2 separate regions of the Homo sapiens genome follow, and region 2 is linked to region 1. The links are contacts of gene promoters, found by promoter capture Hi-C in blood cells and fetal thymus (Javierre and others, 2016). All regions are on one chromosome and are shown on one strand. Each heading gives the region's core, a stretch centred on a gene start or on the middle of the fragment in contact. The rest is flanking DNA. Distances are from core to core; before and after follow the strand shown. Region 1 holds the start of MCM10 (minichromosome maintenance 10 replication initiation factor). Region 2 has its middle 7.3 kb from the start of PHYH.

Region 1 (6,255 bases), core at 1,057-3,556:
TTCTCCCCTAAACCTGTTCCGTTCTTCCTATGTCTCCTACTTCAGTGCACAACCTCAAAAACGACCCTATTGTATAAATCAGAAACCTAACAGTCATCCTAAACCTGTCTCCCCATCCCCTCTCTGCTTCCTTCTCGCTAATATCTCCACATTCAATGGATGTTTTAAAAATATAAACTCAAGATTTTATTGTCTTCATAATAAAAGAAAACATGACACTTAGAACTGGATCACTTGGCCGTTTCTCTTCTTACCTCCTCCCAGTTCAAAATGCTAGCATATTTTAATAGCCAGCACTCTCTTAGAGCTGCAGCTGGGCTCAACGCACTCAAGCCTTGGCACAATTTTCTGTAGTTTTAGCCCTTTCCTGGAAAATCGGCTTAATTTGCCCACGATAGCCACTCTGCTTCCTGTCATAACGCCGCTTTCCCTGGGCATACAGAGAATCCTTCTCCTTCGTGTACAGTGTCACTTTGTGGGGTTGGTGCTTGCCACACTTCTTATAGAAAGTCTGGCGGGTTTTAGGAAACTTCGTAATGTTTGTGTGAGCGCTATCGGCACGGAAAAGCCACATTCAATGGATTTTAAAAAATCTATTTGCCTAATTGTTTCTCAAAATCACCTCCACTTCTTTTCTCAAAGTCACCACTATACTAATTCCAATAAAAAGTGCTTGATTCTTCACTTAAGGAAGGTTTGCGGGCTTAGGTTGGTTCTGTTTCTGACTCCTTGCCCGGAACTGGATGCAAAGAGGACCTGGAAAGTGAAGGTGAAGAAAAGAACTTCAGAGTACTGATCAGAATTAGTCAAGGAATTTCTGCATAATGGCTAAGAATAAATCTATGACGAATCTTTTTTTTTTAATAACTAGATGTAGTGATGCATTTATTTATTTATTTATTTATTTATTTATTTATTTATTTAGACAGAGTCTGGCTCTGTCGCCAGGCTGGAGTGCAGTGGCGAGATCTCGGCTCATCACTGCAATCGCCACCTCCCAGGTTCAAGCGATTCTCCGCCTCAGCCTCCCAAGTAGCTGGGATTACAGACGCGCACCACTACGCCCAGCTAATTTTTGTGTTGTGTGTGTTTTTAGTAGAGATGGGGTTTCACCATGTTGGCCAGGCTGGTCTCGAACTCCTAACCTCGTGATCCACCCACCTCGGCCTCCCAAAGTGCTGGGATTACAGGGGTGAGCCACCGTGCCCGGCCTTAGTGCCGTATGTTTAAAAGTACGCATTTAAACATACTTTTTCAATTTGATTACTAGAGTTCCTCCATTACTATGAATTTTTAACACTAGCAGCTCTCAGAAATGGTTGTATTCCTATTCCTGAGCCAATATAGGTTTAAGTAATAGGGCTGAGCTCATAAATGGAGCAGTAATATTCCATTAGGACACAGAAAAAAGTCAACGTAGATGGCATCAGGACTGTTTATCTTCAGTCTTCCTAAAGTCGATTTTAATTGTTCTGAAAATGAAAGTACGTAGTGGATAGAGATAGGATCTTATACCAAAGGGATTATTAGTGGGGGAACTGCAGTGCCTGAACAGTGTCTGCAAGGAGGAAAAGGGGGGAAAGACTTAAAGTGGCCATTTGGTCCATCAAAGTCTCTTCTGCTATCAATCCCTTGAAATTATGTAAAAGCTAAATGTTATTCTGCATTTAGAAACTATGTTCTTAGTATTATGTACAAACACTATTTTTTAGAATGTAAATACATAAAGAGGCCTGAATTTTACTGAAAAAAAAATCTGTGAAAGATATGGTCTGCTGATAAGTTCTCTTCAGCCCTGACGCCCCTTAGAAGTCCCAAAATCTATGGAACAGGAATTACTCGGGAAATGGTGGTTTCAGTGTAAAAGATGTCATCTACCCTTTCCCTCACTGCACAGATGGTGAAGGGGAAACTCAGAGAGATAAGTCACTTCCCCAAGGTCAGACAGGGTAAAAGTGGACCGGATCTGTTTGGTCCTGAGCCCAAACATTTCGAATGGACATAAGGCTGACAAAGGAACAGTCGGTCCCAGAGCGTCAGGAGTTGAGGTGGGATGGGACCGCAGGGAAAATACTGGGTGGGATGACTTAAACTTCCCGGCACCAGGGGGCGCCAGACACTCTATTTTACCTAAAGGAGACTGGCTTCTACCGACAGGAAGGTCCCTTGCCCCCAACAAAGAGGGCGTCCAATGACGTAAACCAATCCGATTGCTCTGTGCCAGGGCCGGGATTCGCTGGCGTAGCCAGTCAGTGCTGCCCCACAGCCGCGTGCGTCTGACGTCAAGGCAGGGGCGGGATCCGGTTGGAATTTTGGCGGGTTCAGCTGTGAACGAAGAAGGCGTCCCGGCATCGGGTGAGGAGCGCGGGCCCCGGGCGTGCGTGTGACCCTCGGGCGGCGGGGCCGGGGCCGCCTCGCACGTCTCTGCGCGGGTTGCAAGGGGTCCGAGGCTAGAGGCGCGGGGTCCCGGGAGCTCGGGTGGGCGCGATCTGGATTTGGCGGCAGCTTGGGACCGCTCGGAGCTGGCATGGCCGGGCCGGGGGCTGGGAGTTGCTGGCCGTCTACTAAGGAATCGGGTTCTTCCTTTTAAACGCAGCCTTTTAAGTGCTTGCCAAGTGCCTGCCGCCTGGGCTTTCTTTTATTCATTCATTCATTCATTCATTCATTGGTTTCTCGTATTCATGATTTGCCAATGATTATTGAATGCGGACGGTGTGCATGGCTCGGATCACATTTCCGCTGCCTTCACAGCGCTTACAGTTTAAAGGCACGAGCAGGTAGTAAACAAATGCACGACAGTGGACGACTCAGGGTGGTCCAGAAAGTCTCAGAAAGATGAGTAAGTGGAGACCGAAGGGCGAGAAGGACCTGGGGGGAGCTTTCTTCGACAGAGCCTGAGACCTCAAAGCAGCTTAGTGTGTTCCAGAAGGTGGAAGCGGGCTGGCCCGGCTGGAGCATCGTTATGGGTGTCGGGGTGGGTAGAATTGGACGTGGTGGATTGTGGAAAATGTGAGGGAGTAGAAAGCTTGGAAAGAGAGAGAGAATATGAATCATTGCCTCGCAGGCTTTGTAGATTTTTTCTAAGGGCAATGGAAAATCATTAAAGAATTTCAATGAAGGGACCCCCATGATCTGATTTATGTTCCTAAAGGTTACTAAGGAAAGGGAAGATTACCGTGGCTGTCGTATGCAGAACAGATTGCACGGGGACAAAGAGACCAACATAGAAAGCTAACACAGTCATTGGGTTAAAGGTTGACGGTGGCTTGGCCTAGGGTTCTGGCAGTGAAGTTGGAGAGAAGTGGCAGATTTGAGCAGTGTTTTGGAGATGGGACCACAGTACTTGTCAGTGGCCGTGGATTTGAGGGCGAGGGAGGGTGCACAGTTTCATTTTGGGGGAAGGCAAGGCCGGTTACAGACTTGAACGAGACAGTTTGCTCCTAACGCTCAGGAAGCTTACTGTCCAATAGGTTCCCCAGTAGATAGCACAGTGTGTGGCACATGAGGGATCCGTGGAAATGTTGGTTGAATGAATTTTTAAAAAGCGGCCAGGCGCGGTGGCTCACGCCTGTAATCCCAGCGCTTTGGGAGGCCAAGGCGGACGGATCACCAGGTCAGGAGATCGAGACCATCCTGGCTAATACGGTGAAACCCCATCTCTACTAAAAATACAAAAAATTAGCCGGGCGTGGTGGCGGGCGCCTGTAGTCCCAGCTACTCGGGAGGCTGAGGCAGGAGAATGGCGTGAACCCGGGAGGCGGAGCTTGCAGTGAGCCAAGATCGCCCCATTGCACTCCAGCCTGGGTGACAGAGACTCCGTCTCAAAAAAAAAAAAAAGCACCTTTGGGAGTCCAAGGCTGATGGATCACTTGACATCAGGAGTTCAAGACCAGCCTGGGCAACATGGCGAAACCCTGTCTCTACAAAAAACACAAAAATTAGCCGGGTGTGGTAGTGCACGTTTGTAATCCCAGCTACTTGGGAGGCTGGGGCAGGAGAATCACTGGAGCCTGGGAGGCGGAGGTTGTAGTGAGCCAATAGCACCACTGCACTCCAGCCCCAGCGACAGAGCGAGATCCTGTCTAAAAAAAGAAAAGAAAGTACCATAATCACTGTAATTAGTTCCTTGACATTGAACTTGCCAAAGAGCACATGTAAGTTAAATAAGAGCCTAGAAAAATGTATACTTTCTTACTTGCAGTTTAAAAAATAACCTTAAATGAAAAGAGAAGTGCACAAAGTGATACAACTTTGTCTTAATTAGCTACGCTGTTTCTCTGTGCTTTGCTGACTAGTATTGAATCAAAATCCTGATTGTCACTAAGGCTCCACCTAAGTAGAATCATACAGTAAGCTGTCGTGGATAACGCAGATGTCAGGTGTATTACAGTGAATAAAATGAAAGAATAGCCTAATGTAGATCGACCCCAATAATTTGTGTGTGTGTGTGTGTAATTTTTAAAAAAGACAAGGTCTTGCTATGTGACCAGGCTGGTCTCAAACTTCTGGCCTCAAGTGATGCGCCCACCTTAGCTTCCCAAAGTGCTGGTATTACAGGCGTTGAGCCACTGTACCTAGCCAACCCCAATAGTTCTTCCTCATAATTTATCTCATCCACGTAATCTAGTGTGATTTACAAACTGCTCTGCAGCTCAATAACTTTCTGTAACCTTAAACACAAGTAAAAGTGAGCTGCTACATCCAAGGAAGGAGATGGCATTGGCGGTGTGGAGAGAGGAGGTGAGAAATGGTCAGATTCTGGATGAATTCTGAGGTTAGAGCCCATAGGAGTGGTAGGATTCTGGGTTTGTTGGATGTGTGTTGTGAGAGAAAGAGAAGAATTGAAAGTGACATTTCTAATATTGCTTTCACACAGCCAAGATTCTACATTGCTCATCTGGGCATCTGAGCCTCCTTCGAAGTTTCCTGTCACAACTGTCCTCTTGACAGCATGGATGGTAAGACCTGGCAGTTTTCTGTTACTCTGTTTCAAGGAAAACTAACCTTTTGTCCATGGACTTGTTATTTATTCTACCTGTAAAATGGTGAAAATGCTCCCCAGCCCTCAGGTATTGTCTTAGTGGTTCTGAAGCAATCTCACATCTCACAGAGGTCACTGAATGTTACTTGCTTTTATCAGGGGAGATTTCTTCTGGCAACAGAGATTGTCTTTCATAATTACAATAGCTGGTAGGTGTACAGTGGGCCAGGCACTGCTCCAAGATCCTTGTGGAAATTAACTGATTCAGTCCTCAGGCAAACGTATTTTATAGGCAGAAAAACAGGGATGTTTAGTAACTTGTCACAGTTCAAGCTGGCATAGCAGGGCTTTGAACCAGGCAGTCTGACTTCAGAGTTTACATTTGATAATGAAATCTGCTGAAGCGATATTAGTCTAGCTCTGACTTAAGTTTTTATTAATATCATCCTTTCTAATTTTGTTCATTTTGCAAGGATGTGTACAAAATGTTTACCTAGAAAAGAGATGTTGCACTAATTAGCGATCACCTAAAATGATTGTGCTGGGCTGGACGCAGTGGCTCACGCCTGTGATCTCAACACTTTGGGAGGCCGGGGTGGGAGGATTGCTTGAGCCCAAGAGTTCAAGACCAGCCTGGGCAATAGAGTGAGACCTCATTTCTATTTTTAAAAAATTAAAATGATTGTGCTGGTTGTGAAGAGATCTAGTTGCATAATTGAACTCATAATCTGAAACTGGGTTTTTTTAAAAAATTCAAACATATTACACTTTGCCCTTTAAAACAAAACTTGAAATTCCTCACACTGTGATGCACAGTGGACCCCCGTTGTCCCTGAGAGATGTGTTTCCACACTCCCAGCAGATGCCTGAAACCCAGGATGGTACCAAACCCTAGGCATGCTGTGTTTTTTCCTGTACATACATACGTGTGATAAAGTATAATTTATGAATTAGGCACAGTGAGAGATGAACAACAATAATAAAATGGAACAATTATGACAATATACTGTAATAAAAGTTATGTGAATGTGGTCTCTCTCTAAAGTATCTATTGCACTCTCAAAATATCCATTGTACTGTCCTCAACCACAGTGACCATGGAAAATCAAAACCACAGAAAATAAACCCTCAGATAAGGGGTTATTCCTTATGTGAAACTCATTGCCTGATGCTATCATGGTAGTTTCCTGTTTCTTAAAATTGGCAAATTGCCTACAGGGCAGGTTATATAATACAAAGCATCACTTTTTGCTATCAGATTGACATGAAAATAA
Region 2 (6,343 bases), core at 2,163-4,662, 150 kb after region 1:
TCCCAGCTACTCAGGAGGCCGGGGCAGGAGAATCGCTTGAACCCGGGAGGTGGAGGTTGCAGTGAGCCGAGATAGCGTCATTGCACTCCAGCTTGGGCAACACGAGTGAAACTCCATCTCAAACAAAGAAACAAACACAAAAACGAAAACCAGAAAACAAACAAACAAACAAAAACCCCAGAAAATTAGCTGAGCGTGGCACACCTGTAGTACCAGCCACTTGAGAGGCTGATGTGGGAGGATCGCTTGAGCCCAGGAGGTGGAGGTTGAAGTGAGCCAATATTGTGCCACTGCACTCCAGCCTGGGCGACAGAGCAAGACTGTGTTTCAAAAACAAAATAATAAATTAAATAAATAAATAAATAGTTGAAGCCAAGCATGGTGGCTCCCGCCTGTAATGTCAGCACTTTGGCAGGTCGAGGCAGAGGATTGCTTGAACCAAGAGGCTCGAGACCAGCCTGGGCAACATAGCAAGACTTCGCCTCTACAAAAAATTTTAAAAAGAAATAGCGGGGTGCAGTGGCGCACGTGTAGTCCTAGCTACTCCAGAGTCTGAGGCAGGAGGATTGCTTGAGCTCAGGGTTCTAGGCTGCAGTGAGCCATGATCCCCTACTGTACTCCAGCCTGAGTGATAGAGATCCTATCTCTAAAATTTATTTTAAAAAGTTTAAAAAGTTAGCTGGGTGTGGTGGCTTATGCCTGTAATCCAGCATTTTGGGAGGCTGAGGCGGGTGGATCACAAGGTCAGGAGTTTGAGACCAGCCTGGCCAAAATGGTGAAACCCTGTCTCTACTAAAAAAATAAAAAAATTAGCCAGGCATGGTGGTGGGCGCCTGTGGTCCCAGCTACTCAGGAGGCTGAGGCAGGAGAATCGCTTGAACCCGGGAGGCAAATGTTGCAGTGAGGTGAGACTGCACCACCGTATTCCAGCCTGGGCAACAGAGAGAGATTCCAAAAATAATAATAATAACAATAATAAGTTGTTCAAGCATTGTACACACTTAAGGAAATGTCATTATATGAATAAAAAATTATCTGCAATCAACTCCAGATTCAAAAACTCTGAGAATAGATATTACTGTAGGTGAGGTCATTTGGTTACAAGTTTTAAAGTTCGTTTAGAATATAGTGGCTCACACCTGTAATCCCAGCATTTTCAGAGGCTAAGGCAGAAGGATCACTTCAGGCCAGGAGTTCAAAACCAGCCTGGGCAACATTGCAAGACCCCATCTCTGCAAAAAGTTTAAAAATTAGCCAGGTATGTAGGCTGGGTGCGGTAGCTCACGCCTGTAATCCCAGCACTTTGGGAGGCCGAGGTGGGCGGATCACCTGAAGACAGGAGTCTGAAACCAGCCTGGCCAACACCCTGTCTCTACTAAAAATACAAAAACTAGCTGGGCATGGTGACGCATGCCTGCAGTCCTGGCTACTCAGGAGGCTGAGGCAGGAGAATCGCTTGAACCTGGGAAGGGGAAGTTGCAGTGAGCTGAGATCGCGCCACTGCACTCCAGCTTGGGCAACAGAGCGAGACTTCGTCTCAAAAAAAAATAGCCAGGTGTGGTGGTACGCACCTGTAGTCCCAGCTATTCAGGAGGCTGAAGCGAGAGGATCTCCTGCTTTTCTCGAAGCCCATTTCTGATGTCAGCTATAATGAAAACAAGTCTGAAGAATGGAGACATCTGTGGTGCAAAGAAATATCTCATCTTCCAACCTAAATTAGAAACTAAGAAATATAGGTGTGTAAATCTGGGAGAAGAGGAAAGAATAAAATTATCACTTATGGAATTATTTGGATTGAGAGGCCCGGGGTAAATGATCTACCATGAAATAAACACAAATCAACCAGCAAACCTCTACACAATTATTGGGTACCTAATTTGTACCGAGCTGTCTAAAAGAAACAGGGAAACATAGGAGGGGGTACAGCAATGATCCACGTAAGCAGAGGGAAAGGCAGTGCCATGCCCAGGCTCTAAACGACACAGGGCAGGGGACAAGGCAGCAGGTGCAGGAAGAGTGAGGGCTAAGGTATGTTAGGGTGAAGGAGGGCAGAAAGGAAGGAAATAGGGAAAGAAATCACACACACACACTCATACACACACACATATACACATACATGCACACACACACACATGCACGCATGCGCGCACACACCTTCCATTCTGTGTGTCAGTTCCCCATGGATATGAATGGAACACGTGTGTGTGCAGGGAGGCTGGAATCACAGAGGCTGCTTGACAGCAAAGGGAAGGTGGTGTTTTAATTCTAAATTGTCCAAAATGCAGAAAGAAAGAAACTTCTCATTGGAAACTGTTGTATTTCCATGGCCCTTTATGTATTCTTTATTTTTTTTTTCCGACAGAGTTTCGATCTTGTTGCCCAGGCTGGAGTGCAATGGCGCAATCTTGGCTCACCACAACCTCCGCCTCCCAGGTTCAAGTGATTCTCCTGCCTCAGCCTCCCAAGTAGCTGGGATTACAGGCATGCACCACCATGCCCGGCTAATTTTGTATTTTTAGTAGAGACGGGGTTTCTCCATGTTGATCAGGCTGGTCTCGATCTCCCGACCTCAGGTGATCTGCCCGCCTCGGCCTCCCAAAGTGCCGGGATTTATGTATACTTTCATGTTGGCGTTAATCATCTCATGTTGGCACTACAGAAAAGTTGATTCTGCCACAGTCTGCCTGGTGGGCGAGGCTTGCTTTGTGCACAAAGCTTGGCAGCCAGCGGTGAACTGACCTTCCCCACTGCTGGCCCCCACTTTGTATGGCTATGTGATCATATTAATTTGGCCAGCCATGGTGGCTCAGGCCTGTAATCCCAGCACTTTGGGAAGCCAAGAGTTTGAGACCATCTTGGGAAACACAGCAAGACCCCATCTCTATGAAAAAAAGCTAAAAAACTAGCTGGACATGATCGTGGTGTGCCTGTAGTCCCAGGTACTCAGGAGGCTGAGGCGGGAGGATCACTTGAGCCCGGGAATCAGAGGCTACAGTGTGCCATGATCACACCACTGCACTCCCACCTGGGCAACAGAGTGAGACCTTGTCTCAAAAAATTTTTTAAAAATCATATTAGTTTACATTATATATTACATATATATTTAAATGACCCAATGTTTTGTGATCAATAATAATACACATATATTGTAGAATATTTGAAAAAATATAGGGAAAAAACCCCTAAAATTCACCCATGTGGCTGCTCTTTGCAAGAAAACCGTTGTTAAAATTCATTCTATTTTTCCCATTCACATTTAGTTGAAATACATACATTTTATACAGGTATATACATATATATGTATATATTTTTTCAAAGTTAATATCACACTGAATACACTACATTGCATCTTTTTTTGTATAAAACACTTAATTTAGGCCAGGAGCAGTGGCTTACGCCTGTAATCTCAGCACTTTGGGAGGCCGAGGCGGGTGGATCACCTGAGGTCAGGAGTTCAAGACCAGCCTGACCAACGTGGAGAAACCCCATCTCTACTAAAAATACAAAATTAGCCGGGTGTGGTGGTGCATGCCTGTAATCCCAGCTACTTGGGAGGCTGAGGCAGGAGAATTGCTTGGACCCAGAAGGTGGAGGTTGCAGTGAGCCGAGATAGCGCCACTGCACTCCAGCCTGGGCAACAAGAGCAAAACTCCATCTCAAAAAAAAAAAAAAAAAAAGAAAGAAAGAAAGAAAGAAAAAAGAAAAAATACAGGGAAAAAAAACCTCTAAAATTAACTCATGTGGCTGCTCTTCACAAGAAAACCACTGTTACAATTCACTATATTTTTTCCCATTCACATTTAGTTGAAAAATATACATTTTATACAGGTACATACATACATACGTATATATTTTTTCAAAGTTGGTATCACACTGAATACACTGAATAGACTGCATTGCATCTGTTTTTGGTAGAAAACACTTAATTTATTGGTCTTTGTGGAGAATTAGGTGCATCACCAGTGTGTTACAGCTGAGCCATTAGTTTTGTAGCTTCATCAACATTAACTGGTTTGCTCTGATGACGCTGCTGAGGAATCAGCTCTTTCTGCAGAAGATCAAGAGAAAGGCCTTTTGAGAAATGTGGAAGTTCCTCTTGTACACTTCCAAAAGCTTTGTTTACTCTGCTGACTTTTTCATCATTCATAATGTGTATCTTCTTAAGATTAGCGGTAATTGGTTTTACTCTGTTTTTAGCCTTAAAGCTTTTTTGGCTAGCTATGCGAAATACGTTCCTGGACTTCTGCCCTCTAAATTTGTTCTTGGCCATTGTCAGGAATTCAATACTTGCGTGCAGCTTCTTAAACTCCAGGTGACGCCGCATCTTTTTTTCACCTTAGATTACAGCATAGACATTTTACCATGAATACATAGTCTCCAAAAACGTGACTTTTGAGGTAGAATTACAGATAATTTTTTTTTTTTTTTTGAAACAGAGTCTCAAAAAGAAACATTTAAAAAACTGATGGGTGTGGGCTGGTGGCTCAAGCCTGTAATCCCAGCACTTTGGGAGGCCGAGGTGGGTGGATCACTTGAAGTCAGGAGATCGAGACCATCCTGGCTAACACGGTGAAACCCCGTCTCTACTAAAAATACAAAAAATCAGCCGGGCGTGGTGGTGGGCGCCTGTAGTCCCAGCTACTCGGGAGGCTGAGGCAGGAGAATGGCGTGAACCCAGGAGGTGGAGCTTGCAGTGAGCCGAGATTGCGCCACTGCACTCCCCCCGGGTGACAGAGCGAGACTCCGTCTCAAAAAAAAAAAAAAAAAAAAACCAAGAAACAAAAAAATTAGCCGGACATATGGCGTGCACCTGTAGTCCCAGTTACTCTGGAGGCTGAGGCAGGAGAATGGCTTGAGCCTGGAAGGCAGACGTTGCAGTGAGCCGAGATTGCATCACTGCACTCCAGCCTGGGTGATAGAGTGAGACCCTGTCTCAAAACAAAACAAAAAAACAACACCAAAAAAGACTGCTGGGTGTGGTGGCTCACACCTGTAATCCCAACACTTTGGGAGGCCAGAGTGGGACGATCACTTGAGCCCAGGATTTCAAGACTAGCCTGGGAAACAAAGTGAGACCCCCATCTCTACAATAATTTTTTTTTAATTAGCCCAGGCGCGGTGGTGTGCCTGTAGTCATAGCCACTCAGGAAGCTGAGGTGGGAAGATCTCTTGAGCCTGGAAGGTCAAAGCTGCAGTAAGCCATGATCATGCCACTGCACTCCAGCCTGGGTGACAGAATGAGACTGTCTCAATAAAAACACACTTACTTACATACATAAATACATAAATTGGAATCATACTGCATATAGAGTTGTTTTTCAAAACTCATTATTACATTGTGAATATTTCCGTATTTTAAATGCCATAAGACCTGTTTTTTTTTTTTTTTTTTTTTTGAGACACAGTTTCATTCTGTCACCCAGGTTGGAGGGCAATGGCACTGTCTGAGCTCACTGCAACCTCTGCCTCTGGGGTTCAAGCGATTCTTGTGCCTCAGCCTCCTGAGTAGCTGGGATTACAGGTGTGCGCCACTACGCCTGGCTAATTTTTTTATTATTAGTAGAGACGGAGTTTTGCCATGTTGGCCAGGCTGGTCTCGAACTCCTGACCTCAGGTGATCCGCCCGCCTCAGCATCCCAAAGTGCTGGTATTACAGTTGTGAGTCACTGTGCCCAGCCTAAGACCTGATTTTTGATGACTTCATAGCATTCTAGCCTGTGGATTTTCCTATATTCATTGAACCAATGTCCTATTACTATATGTAAGTTTATGTTTTCTTTTCCTTTCTTTCTTTTTTGCTTACAATTGTAAATAATTTGATGAATGTGCTGATTTTCAGTGTTGGGTAGTCCCATGGATATTTCCTTAGGATAAATTATTGACATAGAGTTGCTAGTCAAAGGCTATTAAACATTTCAATATTGCCAAACAAGTCTCAAAATGCTGTTATCAATGAGCATTGAGCATTGACAAAACCTGGGCCTTATCCCCTTTTTTTTTTTTAATTTTTTTGAGATGGAGTTTTGCTCTTGTTGCCCAGGCTGGAGTGCAATGGCACGATATCGGCTCACTGCAACCTCCGCCTCCCGGGTTCAAGCGATTCTCCTGCCTCAGCCTCCTGAGTAGCTGGGATTAGAAAGAAGCATGCACCACCACGCCCTGCTAATTTTGTATTTTTAGTAGAGACGGGGTTTCTCCATGTTGGTCAGACTGCTCTCCAACTCCCGACCTCAGGTGATCCACCCACCTCGGCCTTCCAAAGTGTTAGGATTATAGGTGTGAGCCACCGTGCCCGGCCACCTTACCCTTTTTAAATTCTTGCCAATTAGGTAGGCAAAAAATA

What was found. Contacts are between HindIII fragments. The CHiCAGO score rates a contact against its expected background, and 5 or more counts as called.
Region 2: a contact is called between a fragment that was not itself captured here and the fragment with the promoter of MCM10 in region 1, in 4 of 17 cell types (naive CD8 T cells, naive CD4 T cells, total CD8 T cells and 1 more). The highest score is 6.4, in naive CD8 T cells.

What each region holds. Positions count from the first base shown.
Region 1 is chr10:13,159,252-13,165,506 of GRCh38, forward strand. MCM10 (minichromosome maintenance 10 replication initiation factor) reads left to right here and starts at 2,307. Exons shown (of 20, transcript NM_018518.5): 1 at 2,307-2,355; 2 at 4,877-4,958. The coding sequence starts at 4,952. It also overlaps the pseudogene RPL36AP36. RefSeq lists silencers at 2,056-2,369, 2,392-2,571. The HindIII fragment of the contact is 4,789 bases long and covers 1-3,023 here.
Region 2 is chr10:13,304,178-13,310,520 of GRCh38, forward strand. It overlaps the pseudogene RBISP1. Among named protein-coding and RNA genes, the nearest start is that of PHYH, 7.3 kb to the left of the region's middle. The HindIII fragment of the contact is 1,398 bases long and covers 2,714-4,111 here.